Linked DNA regions of Homo sapiens: region 2 is linked to region 1. Evidence: promoter capture Hi-C in 16 types of primary human blood cells and fetal thymus (Javierre and others, 2016). All regions are on one chromosome and are shown on one strand. Each heading gives the region's core, a stretch centred on a gene start or on the middle of the fragment in contact. The rest is flanking DNA. Distances are from core to core; before and after follow the strand shown.

Evidence for each region. The method cuts DNA at HindIII sites, captures the fragments that hold promoters and counts their contacts. A CHiCAGO score of 5 or more calls a contact.
Region 2: a contact is called between a fragment that was not itself captured here and the fragment with the promoter of LGR4 in region 1, in 1 of 17 cell types (naive B cells). The highest score is 5.3, in naive B cells.

Annotation. Positions count from the first base shown.
Region 1 is chr11:27,467,838-27,474,102 of GRCh38, forward strand. It overlaps LGR4 (leucine rich repeat containing G protein-coupled receptor 4), which reads right to left and starts at 4,953. Exons shown (of 18, transcript NM_018490.5): 1 at 4,281-4,953. The coding sequence starts at 4,465. LGR4-AS1 (LGR4 antisense RNA 1) reads left to right here and starts at 3,894. Exons shown (of 4, transcript NR_131170.1): 1 at 3,894-3,995; 2 at 4,941-5,120; 3 at 5,331-5,359. RefSeq lists silencers at 4,067-4,126, 4,377-4,546, 4,677-4,726. The HindIII fragment of the contact is 11,499 bases long and covers 1-6,265 here.
Region 2 is chr11:26,296,780-26,303,096 of GRCh38, forward strand. It overlaps a transcript of ANO3 not described here. Among named protein-coding and RNA genes, the nearest start is that of ANO3-AS1, 12 kb to the left of the region's middle. The HindIII fragment of the contact is 5,370 bases long and covers 2,065-6,317 here.

The DNA of each region.
Region 1 (6,265 bases), core at 3,703-6,202:
ATATTCATACATCGTTCTTGTTTTGAACAAAGTTCACTTGTATATAAAACTAATGCATCTCTAGAAAGACACACAACACAAACTAAGCCAACAATTGATTTCTGTAATTCAGAAATCAAAAGATAACAAAACTCTACCATCAATAAATACAAACATGTAGCCACTGACTACTGACCTGACCTGCCAGGAAATACACAGTAGATATCAGAGAATACGTTAAAAAGTACTTTCAAATGGTATTAGTAAAAGAAGAAAGGTGCTTGGAGTAGTGGGGGAAAAAAAATACACCTTAGGGAAGAATCTGAGATGATCTTTCCAAAAGGAGATTCTTTAAAAACACTTTAAAGTCCTTCAGGTAACTCAATTCTAAATAAAAAGCTCAACAACCTGCTCATGTACAGGATACATACACTGTGAAGGTTTGAGAGATTATGACTAATTATATGGAAGTGAGGATGTTGAGTAACTTTTTGTACAGTATCCAAATTACTGAAACAGAGTGATTTTATTTTCCAAGTGTTAAGCCATACCCACAGGAAACAACCAGGGCTATTCTACCCTAGCAAAGTGCCTTAGCTAGTCATGCATTCTGCAACAAGTCTCCATGGCAAATTTCCTAACACACACTTCTAAACACAAAGAACTCCTCCAAGTAATAAAGAGGGTGGTGTGAGCTCAACTAAAAGGATATTCTGCTACTCCTGGGATATTTTTATGAGAGGATCATAACCTTATTGTCACCTTGCCATCCTAAAATGGTGTAAAAAATATAAAATCATAGAACTTCTGGAAGTAAGCAGCAGCCTTAGAGGTGATCAAGTGAATCCAGTTGCTTCACTTTTCAGATGAGGAAATTGTCACGAGAAAAAAAAAAAAAAAGTGAATGACTTGCCCAAGGCCATTCAATTACTCAGTGGCATAGTAAAGCTATGATCAAGGACTCAGGTCCACCACTTTCTTCACGAAGTCACAGAAATAGCCTTGCTAATCTTAAAACTATGTGCCAAACATAACCTAGGACATGCAAATTTGTGCTCGAGGTCTACGTTTCTCAAACACCGTAGCAATAACACACAAACCAGAGGACTCACATACACATTCCCCTCCCCATGACTTCATCTCTTCTCCCAATCTTGGAATGTAGGTGATTGAGTTATTAGCACAAATACAGTAATAACCTTGAATCCTTCTGATTAAACTTCGGAATTTTAATATTAGTAAGATTACTGCCTTGAACACTCCTCGGGGTGAATTGTGACAGGCCAGTGCATTGTGACACAAGATTGAATACTGTTGTTCAAAAACATAAATAGTTGCTACAGGTGCAGCAAATGGTGTGAATACAGGAATCCCATTCACAGTACTGAGGATCACATCTGACGCTGTCCCCAGACTCCGGTAAAGCGGCTTTCACCAGGAAATAGACACTGTTAGACTGAACAAGTTTCAACCAGCCTCAAGGAGAAGAAGCAGGTATTCTCTCTCTGGGACCTTCTCAAATCTGGACAAAAGGCTAAGTGCTGAGAATGAATCTGAAAATCCCCTGTGGGAATGGTGTCTGAATTCCATGCCACGGTTCTGCTCCTCGGTGTGGCCTTGCATCCTTATTTATTCACTCCAGCATTTTTAAGTGCCTCCTATGTACCGGGCTCTGGGGATCCCAAGTTGAGTAAAATAAAATCACTGCCCTGTCAGTCCCAGGATCTTTAAAGTGAAATGCACCCCCCACCCCTGTCCCCAGGGAAGGTGAAAGCACTACTCCAGGACAAGCCATTGAGCAATGAGAAGAAAATGAAGAACTCTGATTAGTAATTATAGTTTCATCTTTTTAACTTCTACTTTCATGATTGTAATTTTCTGTATAACTACAGAGGTTTTTGGTTCACATGCTCCAGCAATTAAGAATAGGTGAACAAACGCTTAGAGACCACGGAACTAGTCTCCTGATGTGTAACTGTATCTCAGTAAAGCTGCGATGGGAGAGCAGACTGGAAGTACTTGGAAAAAGACCCTAGGTGATCGCAACATGTCCCATATATGATCGACTGGAGTGTGCAAACCTGCAGCACTGGCCTTGCTTCATACATTGCTTTTGAGAATCACTGAATGAGCTAGTTTCCCCATGAGTAAAATGCAAATATGCTGTCCTTGAAAACCCTTTTAGAGAGGGTGGTTATATATATTTTTGAGGGTGAAATGAGTACTAAGGAGAAATAAGGAGTCACCAGAATGTACGATCACTCTACCTACAGGTCACAAATCTAAGAAAATAAAACACATTTGCACACCACCAAAGCTCAGAAAGTGCTAAGATAATGCTAGTTTAGGCACTCTAATTGAGACTGGTACCAATTATTTTTCTGTTTCCTAAGCCATGAACACTAACTTATTCTAAGGCCCAAAGTTGAAGATACAGCATTTCACCACCTTCAGTGAGTTCTACCAGAAGATGCTTTGGAGAGAGGAGTATGCTCTCATAAAAGTGTGATTATTTCTCTGTGGTTTTAGATACTAATGTAAAACAGCCCGTTTCCTTATAGGACAAGTCTACTCACTAAAATGTGAGGAATCTGCTAAACAAGGTCTTTACTACTGGTCAAAATAGTAAAATTGTGCTTTTCTATTCTATGCAGAGCCTTGCAAGAGGTTCAGGTAAAGGGACCTTTCTTTCTGCATTTCTTTCTGCACGAATTCCCTAAACGTTTCTAGAGAACTTGGGGAAAAATTAGTCCCATTTCCTCTCCACAGGTCTTCTTTCTCTTGATTCAATCAATTCCTGCTCAAACTTTCCCACTTAATGTAACTTTATGAACAAAATGCTCTTCACTGCAAAGTTAACTTTTTTTTTTAATGACAAGTTAAACTTCACTATACTGAAAAAAAAAAAAAACCTCAAATACATAACTAAAACTAACCTGAGACAGGAAAAATAACAAATGGGGAGGGGAAGGCTGAAGGTAGAAGAATGAAACAGGTTCCAAGACAACAGGCCTCGATGCTCACTAAAAGTCCATCCTGAGAGGGCAAGCGGAACACCTTTGCCACCACCCACCTGGAAATACAGCAATGCTCCTGCCTGCATAAAGATTTCTTCACAGGGTCCTTTAAAACTGTCTATTTCTAAGAGGTCCCTTCCACTACAGGTAAAAGGAAATTCCCTCTACCCTAGGGCCCCTCAGGATCCCTTCCTCTCTCACACGTTTCTTCGACTGCTCCTGATTTAAGCATTCAGCTGGCCACGCAACGCAAGAAGCAATAAGAACACAAAAACCCTACCCTGTTCCTCCTCTATCCGTGGCCTTTGCCACCACCTCCACAACCTAGTTCAGATTCCTCTTCTTTTCTCAAGGGAACGTCTAAAGCTCTCAAGTCCGTTTTGGCAGGGCGATTTTGTAAGTCTGAAACATTTCAGTGTGTCTCTCGATCTCAGGCAGCTCAAAAGAAAAGATCTGCTGGCTGCGTGAAGGTGCATTAGAAACCTGCTGCTACCTTGCAGCCTGGGCTGAGCATATGCTCCGGAACTTGCTTCTCTTCCAACATCCTGCACCTCAGGTCAGCATTCCTTCTTTAAAAGGCCTTGTTGGGTAAGAGCATGTCCACCAACAGAACCCTGTAATTCTCCCTTGTTTTCTCGGACTCCCCTGCGTGCTGCAGAAGCCTGGGCGTTAGTGGGGTAGTCCCGAGTGGAACTGGGCCGAGGTAGGTGCCGGGACGCACTACCTGGATGGGGCCAAATTGGAAGGAGATTCGCCCTGACTGAGGTACAGGTGTTTCTTCTCCCCACATGCTGGAACCCAGGAGGCTCCAGGTGCTTCCCCACGAGACATGCCTCGGTATGCAGACTGAGGCCAAGTTCTCGGCGCCCTCAGCCCCGCCAGTAGCGGAACTCCTGCCCGCTGAGCGAGGGCCCTCATGAGAAGGGAAGGTCGCGTGGACAGGCTGCCAGGGGCAAGCGTTTTTAGATTACTTCCTCCTTCTTGGCCCCAGATGCACTTGTGAGTTGGGGGTGTGCGCGGTGGGGTGGGAGGGTGCTTGTGCCCAAAAAGTCTGGGAACGAAAGCTACTGCTGGCTCGAACCCGGACTAGCAAAGTGCGGAAAGCCCGTGGCACAGGAGTGGGTGCCAGGCAGCCCGCACGCAGGTGACCGGCGGACCCCCTCCCCAGGCCCGGGCGGCGGCGGGGCGGGGTGGGGTGGGACTGACCCCTGGCTCCGCCCCGCGGCGCCCCCCGCTGGGCCCCGTTTCCTCCCCCCCCCTCGCGTCCCCGCCGCCCGCACTCACAGCGCTTGGGTGAAGGCGCTGAGCCCCTCGGGCACGGCCGTCAGCCCCTTCCCGGAGCAGTCCACCCGACGGTCGCCGTCGCAGCTGCAGGGCGCCGCGCAGAGAGGCGGCGCCGCGCCGCTGGGCCCGGCCGAGCCGAGCAGCCCCAGGGCGAGGAAGCAGAGCAGCCCTAGCGGGCCCGGCATTGCTGCGGCCGCCTCCCGCGCCGGCCTCTCCCGCGGCGCTGCTCGCTCCGCTGCCCTCCGATGTCCCCCGCCGCCCCCGGGCAGCCGGCCTGCGGGCTGGAGCGGGGGTCTCTTCCTCGGCGGTCCGCGCGGGCTCGGCCCCTTCAGCAGTCCGCCGCAGCGGCGCAGGGACGCGGCGCTCCGGAGTTTCGCCCTTCCCGCTGCTCCATGGACGCGCAGAGGCAGCCCCGCTCCTCCGGCGGCTCACGCCAGCCGGGCCGGCCCGGCGCAGCGGCGGGGGCCGCGCTCTGCCATCGCACCGGTCTCCCTGTCCCTGGCCTCTCAATGCAGCGGCTCTTCAAGGTTGCAGAGCGCAGCCTTCAGCCATGCCGGCCACTCGCCCCAGCCCCCGCCGTGGCTCTCGCACAAACACCCAGACTCTGGCTCGCTGTCTCCCAGCCGCGGCTCAATCTCTTCCCGTCCTTTTCCCTTCTAGGGTTGCACGCTCTGGTTCCCAAACCCCCGGCCGCTGGCTTATGCAAATCACTTAGGTACATGCAAAAGTATCCCTTCTCCCGGAGCGCCATTGGCCCGGGGAGGTCTCGAGCTCATTACTATGCAGAGAGGAGAGCCGCCATTGGCCAAGAGGAGGACCAGAGGGGCGTGTTTCTCGGGCGTGAGTGACAAGGTGGTGGTGGTTGTGGTGGTGGCGGCGGTGGTGGTGGTGGTGGTGGCGGCGGTGGTGGTGGTGGTGGTGGTGGTGGTTCAAGGCAAAATCTTGACTTGGCTGGATTTGTCTGGCAGGTTGTGGATTGAAGGTAGAAGGATAGTAGGACAAGGGGTCTAGTTTTTCCCTCCCCCACCCGTCTTTTTGTTCCCTCCGCAGAAATTGGATCTCCTAAATTGGATGACCTGGTAAGTAGAACTTCCCTCCAGCGTTCAGTTAAGTTTTAAATGACTCTCCGCTGTTCCAAAGGGCGAGGACGTCTGGAGCTCTGCAAACGGAAAAAAGATTTTGAAGAGGAGGAAAAAAGTTTCCCTCGATCTGACACACATCTTTGGGTTTTAGCTATACACTAAGTTAAAAGTGTACCCTCTCCAGTGCCTCACTTCACCTGGGATCTTTACACCTATCTTGATACACATTTGGTAGCTAAGTCTTAGCAATTCATTCTCCCCAGTCCTCTCTCTGTATTTGGTGTTTTTGGTGACTGCAAATTAGACTCCTTTCTCACGCACTTTAAAATCCTGAAACACAGGAATTTTGTAAAAGGTCAGAGAAAGTGATGTTTCTGAACACTGGACAATTTCCAAAACATCTGAGTGGGAGGTGACTACGGCTGAGAAGCCAGCAGCAACGTTGGTGTTAGGTAATTATCAGCATTCCCTCCTCTTCTGGATTTTGAGTCCCTGTGGCCTAATAGACCCCACGGAATCATTACCTGTACCAACTACGGCTTTAAGGGTACTTCGTTTCTTGCTCTCTGCCATGGCGTTGAGTCGTTTTACTCTATAATGGAGACATTTTTAATGAATACATTAAAACAAGCAGGATTCGGCCGGGCGCGGTGGCTCACGCCTGTAATCCCAACACTTTGGGAGGCTGCGGCGGGCGGATCACCTGAGGTTGGGAGTTCTAGACCACCCTGACCAACATGAAGAAACCCCGTCTCTACTAAAAATACAAAATTAGCCGGGTGTGGTGGCAGATGCCTGTAATCCCAGCTACTCGGGAGGCTGAGGCAGGCGAATTGCTTGAGCCCGGGAGGCGGAGGTTGCGGTGAGCTGGAGATCGCGCCATTGCATTCCAGCCTGGGCAAC
Region 2 (6,317 bases), core at 3,500-5,999, 1.2 Mb before region 1:
TTTCTTAATATATCAGCGAAGGAGACAGCTTTTACTATGAAAAATATGATTAGCTTCCAAGCCACGTAAATGTGACTTTGGTCTGAGCCTTTGAGTATCAGGAACTTGAAGCTGAAACACTTCTAGATATCATCCAGAATTCCTAATGTTATATATGAATCTTCTCTAGGGTACTCCAGTCAATCATTATTAAAAATACACTTGAGTACCTCTAGAGACAGGTAGCCACACCCAGGATAGCTCATTTCATATTGGATAACTCTTAAAATTATATTGATCAAAATATTTATATAATATACTTTAGGATTCAATGTTTCAGATTACTTCCTATAATTTAAAAATAGTAATCACTGATTGTGTTCTTTCTTCTTCTGGCTGAACATCCCAAGCTGCATCAACCATTGCGTGTGTGTGTGTGTGTGTGTGTGTGTGAATTTCTTTTTACCCTCCAGTATATCTGTGTTTCTTTTTTTTATCCCTTTTTTGTCTTGTTGATATTTATGAGGATCATTTTAAATTTCACTTTATTAGTGAGCATTTCTGTCAGTATCACAAATAACCAGTGAGTGTCGCTGTTCTAACACAGACAAACACTTGTGGGCCTGTCATACAATGATCAACAACATTCTTGCATAAGCCATAAGCACTTGTAATTATGCGGAACACAGGCAGTGGGCTGAATGAATCAAGGGTCCTCTTAATCCACCCACATTAGCTAATGTAGACATTTCAGACAGATTTACTGGTGCCCTTTTATTGACATTAGTTTCCTTTAGTTTTCCAAGATGATAATTCATTTTGTTCTCCCTTCAAAATAAAAGACTGGTCATTTTCCCCAAAATGCTCTTCCTACAACTCAACTTGTATAGTTTGTAAACAACTTTTTCTCTTGATTTCAATCATTCATTCAGAGGGTTACTACTACAAAGGGAAAGGCAATAATTCTGAGTACCCATCTGTACCAAGTTTCCTTCCAAGAACTCCATGTGTATCATTTCTTTTAACACCACAACAATGCAATGAGGCAGTCATTATTCATGCCGTTGTTTATATCAGGGAAAGGAGGCTGAGGAAGTTAAATAACTCGACTCTGGGTGACATAATCAGTAAGTAACAAATCTGATGTGAGAAGCCAAGACCACCTGACACCACAGCCCCATTCTTTCCACTATACCCTCCTTCCTAACTGCAGGTGGTGCCTGCAAAAATGAGGAGCATAGAAACTAGTATCTCAATCCTTGAACATGTTGGGATTTCAGCAGAATCAGTAGATAACATTTTTCTCTTCTCTGCCTGGATTCTCAGAAAATATTTGAGAAATAGAATACTAGAGACTACAAGACAGAGATCAAAATGTCAATTGTGAATTGATGTAAGCTGGAAAATAGGACTTAGATATGTAGCCAAAGGAGCTTGCCCAAATTCCTTCCCTCATTCTCAATCTAATAGCTACCCACCCAGTAACTGGCACAACTAGCAGATCCCAGGGCACCCACAAAGGGATGGACCACATACCAGGTGATAGGAGAGAGAAAACAGGCCAAAATGGAAAGGAAAAAAGAAATTGCTGAACCAATTTTTCCTGTATATTTTAAGCTAACAAATCATATATAAACTAGATTTTTTTCCACAACAGAAGTCCCTACACATGGAAATATGAGGGGTATGGAATAACTGTTCACTGAAAGACTTGTGTTTTCAATATTTGCAATGCCAAGCAAGGTTATTTCAGGCCTTGTAGAGCTCGTTTTCAAATAATTATTCTGAGTAATTAACCTTTTACTCTGAGTAAAGTGGGGCTTCATTGAATGAAAGGTTTTAAACAAAGGAGTTGTATTAGCTGAATTTCACTTTAATATCACCTAGCTCATGTCTACTCGTTTCCAAACCTAAATCTACTATCATTTTGGGCAATGGAGACGGTGGCAAGACCAAAATCATTTAGGAGATGTACAATAGATGGTGGCAGTGGAGATGGGGAGAAGTCATGGTTAGATTTCGGACATACTTGAAAGTAGAATGAATGAGTGTTGTGAGATAGAAGAGTCAAGATTTTTGGCCCCAAGCTTTTCTCCATCGACTGAAATGACAAAATAATGACTGAATACAGTCTGGGAGCCAAGATCAGAGAGATCATTTGGGAATGTCGAGTTTGGACTTGATTCTTTCAGACCAATGGAAATGTGAAGAAGACATACATGTGGTCTAAAAACCTGGAGTTAGAAAAAGAGATCTGGACTGGAGATGTACGTTTAGGAAGTATCGTTCTACAGAAGATGTATAAAACCATGAGACAGGATGAAATTACCAGGCATAAGAAATAAAGAGAAGAGTCTAAGGTTTGAGGTTTCTGGGGTTTTGCAAAGTTAAAAGGTTAAGAAAAAGAGGAATGACAAAGGAGGCTGAAAAGGAGAGTTAGTGAGGCTGGAGAAGAATCAAGACACTGTGGTATTCTGAAAGCTAAGTGGGGGAAGTTTATCAAGGAGGAAAGTGTGATTAATTATATAGCATGCCCCTAATATATCAAAGAAGCTGAAGGTTAAGAATTCACTTTGGTGAAGAAGAGGTCATTGGTAACTTTGACAGTCTTAGTGAAGTGATAAGAGGAAAATAAATAAATACTGTAGAGGATTTTTGAAAAATGAATTAGAAATAGTAAGTTTTGGTTCTAACTTTATCTGCTTTTGTGGACTAGTGGAGCAAAAGGCAACAAATAAGTTGAGAAGAAGCCACCAGGAAAACTAGAGTCAAGAGAGATTGCCTTTTTTTTTTCCTATTCTTTTTAGGGATTAGAAGACCTATTTGTATAGTGATGATAAATGTCAACTAGAGTGGGGAGGCGGAGACTGGCATGCTTGTATGGTGATGATAATTATCAACTAGAATGGCAGGGGGTGCAGGGACTGGACTTGACTCTGTAGGGAGAGAGCATGTATGGGAAATTATTGGGCTGCTGTCCTGAAGTAGGAGTGAGGGATAGAAACTACTCCATATGTGGAAGAGATGGCCTTTGTTGGAATACAGTTCGTTTATCTAGACTATCAGTCAGGAAGGCAGAATATATGAGTATACAATTGCCAATAAGTGGGTGGGAGCTGTGGAAGTTTTCTTCACATTGCTTCAGTCTTCTCAGTGAAATAGGAAGCAAAATTATCAGCTAAGAGTGAGATATAGGGAGGAGGTGTTGGAAGACAGGGTTTGAAATGAGGGAATAAAGTATGAAGTAGTCTTCTAGGAGAGTGGGAGAATAGCTGGACCTGGGAAAAATATTTTGACTGCTGGGCACCATTAAGCCCTCATGTGGGGTTATTATCAGGAATTTGAGGAAGACCAGTCTGTATGCTGGCATGTTTTTTCCTTCATTTATGGTTTAATTGCATAGGTATGAGTATGGAGGAAGTGCGATGCCCATGCAAGCACGCACGCACACACACACAGACACACACACACAGACACACGCATACACAGAGACACCAAACAGACACACACACACATACACACCTTACTTTTAAAAGCAAGTTGTTTTACATCTTTCCTATGCAATTTTTGTTTTCCTTTTGGCTCCATCTCTCTCTCTCATTTGCTCTCCCTCTCTCTCTCTCTCGACATTTGCCCCCCATTTTATAGCATTTGCAAAGTTAAAAGGTTAAGAAAAAGAGGAATGACAAAGGAGGCTGAAAAGGAGAGTTAGTGAGGCTGGAGAAGAATCGAGACACACCAACTAAATAACCAAGTATGTAAGAATTGAAAATTATTTTAGAGATCAGTTTCATTCTCCTCATTATAGATGGGGAGACTAAGGACCAGATAAAAAGGATTGGCCCAGATTTTGGCAGTCACATAGGAACAAACTTCTAGAAGTTTCCCTTATAGATATGTGTCTGTGGAACAGGTGTATAGAAAAATTATATGCTAATGTTTAGCAGATGCTCAACATAAATTATCTTATATATTCAGTAACTCAGTTGAAGCAAAATAACATAACCTTGCATAATATCGCTCATATTCTTGTTAGGATAATGTCACTACTGTTGCCTGGGTACTTCTTTACTTTATTTATTTCTTTCTTTTTTTTCTTTTTTTTTTTTTTTTGAGGTGGAGTCTCACTCTGTTGCCCAGGCTGAAGTGCAGTGGTGCAATTTCCACTCACTGCCACCTCTGCCTCCTGGGCTCAAGCGATTCTCCTGCCTCAGCCTCCCAAGTAGTTGGGATTACAGGTGCCCACCACCACTCCCAGCTAATTTTTGTATTTTTAGTAGAGATGGGGTTTCACCATGTTGGCCAGGTTGGTCTTGAACTCCTGACCTCGAGATCCACCTGCCTCGGCCTCCCAAAGTGCTGGGATTACAAGTGTGAGCCACCACGCCCAGCCTCTTTACTTTCTTAATTGCCTCTTCATAATGTATTTAATAAACTATGGCAATCCCAGAATGACAGATTGTTACCACTGTCATTGGATTTCTAATTTCAATTTGGAATTTAAAAACCAAATACCTGAATTGTTGTCCTAATTCTGACATTGCCTATTTATAGCCTTGGTTAGGTAATTGAGCTTTCTGAGTCTGTAGTTTCTTAGCTTATTAAATGAGAAAAAATAGACTAGATATGCAGTTAAAATAATTTTAAAATAGCAGCATAAATGAAACTGAAGTACTTTTATTTAAACAAGGGCTGGTGCATCCAGTTGGCCACTCACTGAACACCTTTGTACTGTTTTAGGTTTCTTTGATGCAGCTACACATAATTCAAGTGCTCCAAGGATTACAATTCCTAAAAGTAGAATGGAAGATCTAGTATTTCTTCCACTTCTGTCATTCTATAAACACATTATGTTATGTAGGGGAGTGGAGGGATTGAGAGATAGGGAAGGAAGAAGAGAGACAGAGAATGAAAAATGAATGTTAAGTTCAGGTAAAAGATTCTTACATACCTACAGTTGCAAAAACCCTTAAATGCCTTCTATGATAAAATGTTTTATTTCTTCCATCCCTATTGTTACAAAAACCTTCAATTACCTTATAGAACAGACTGTTTTATCCCTGCCCCCATTGATGTCATCTCAAAAGACAAGGAGGCTCAAAGTGAGAGTGAGATAGACCTTTACATTATCAACTCATTTCTAAGCCCCATCACATAGATAGGCCTGCATGTTTTAGAAGAGCATTTATGGTAAAAATGATAGAAAGTTATTAATATCCCAAATCGAAAAGTAGGGGAGAGACTGGTGATTCAGCCCTGCTAAGCTACAAGGTACTAGGCAGAGACTGTGAAGGTAACTGCCAAGATTCAGCCAGTCTTCCAGTCATCATGTGCTGTCTGTCTCATATAATTTCTTATACATAAACTGAATTTTATCTGGTTCTTTGGAGAAGTGAGGAGAATAGCTAATTCATAAAAAGTGGTTAGTGTATGAGAGTTTATTTAAGAAAAATGATGGCCAGGTGCGGTGGCTCACGACTGTAATCCCAGCACTTTGGGAGGCCGAGGCAGGTGGATCACGAGGTCAAGAGATTGAGAATATTCTGGCCAACACGGTGAAACCCCGTCTTTACTAAAAATACAAAAAATAGCTGGGCATGGTGACGCACGCCTGTAATGCCAGTTACTCAGGAGGCTGAGGCAGGAGAATCGCTTGAACCTGGGAGGCAGTGGTTGCAGTGAGGTGAGATGGCGCCACTGCACTTCAGCCTGGCAACAGAGTGAGACTCTGTCTCAAAATAATAATGATAATAAAAAGGAAAAATGACAGAAGTCAAAAGAATGCCTCCGATTATTTCAGTGAATAAACTAACGGCCTTAAACAAATATTACTTTCAAACTATTTATATATTTACCATTATAGAAAAAATATAAATAACAAAGTACAAATGCATAAATACTGGGATGTGTTGAAAGTACACAGAGAAAGAAATAACATGCCTTATATCTTATTATTTGAAAATCAGCACTTTTAATATTCTGTAATATATTTTCAGCTTTTGTATGGACATATATATGTGTTTAGAAATTATGATGCTATCACGCAAAAACTATTAGCACCAGTAATATATAAAATTTCCTAGTAACTTAAACCAACAAGCAAAAAACAAATAACCCTATTAATAATGGGCAAAGGAAATGAATAGACATTTTTTAAAAGTAGCCAACAAACATATGAAAAAATCCTCAACATCACTAATCATCAGAGAAATGCAAATCAAAACCACAATGAAATGCCATCTTGCATCAATCAGAATGGTTATAATTAAAAAGTAAAACAATAACAAATGCTAGTGAGGCTTCAGATAAAAGGGAACACTTATACACTGTTGGTGGAA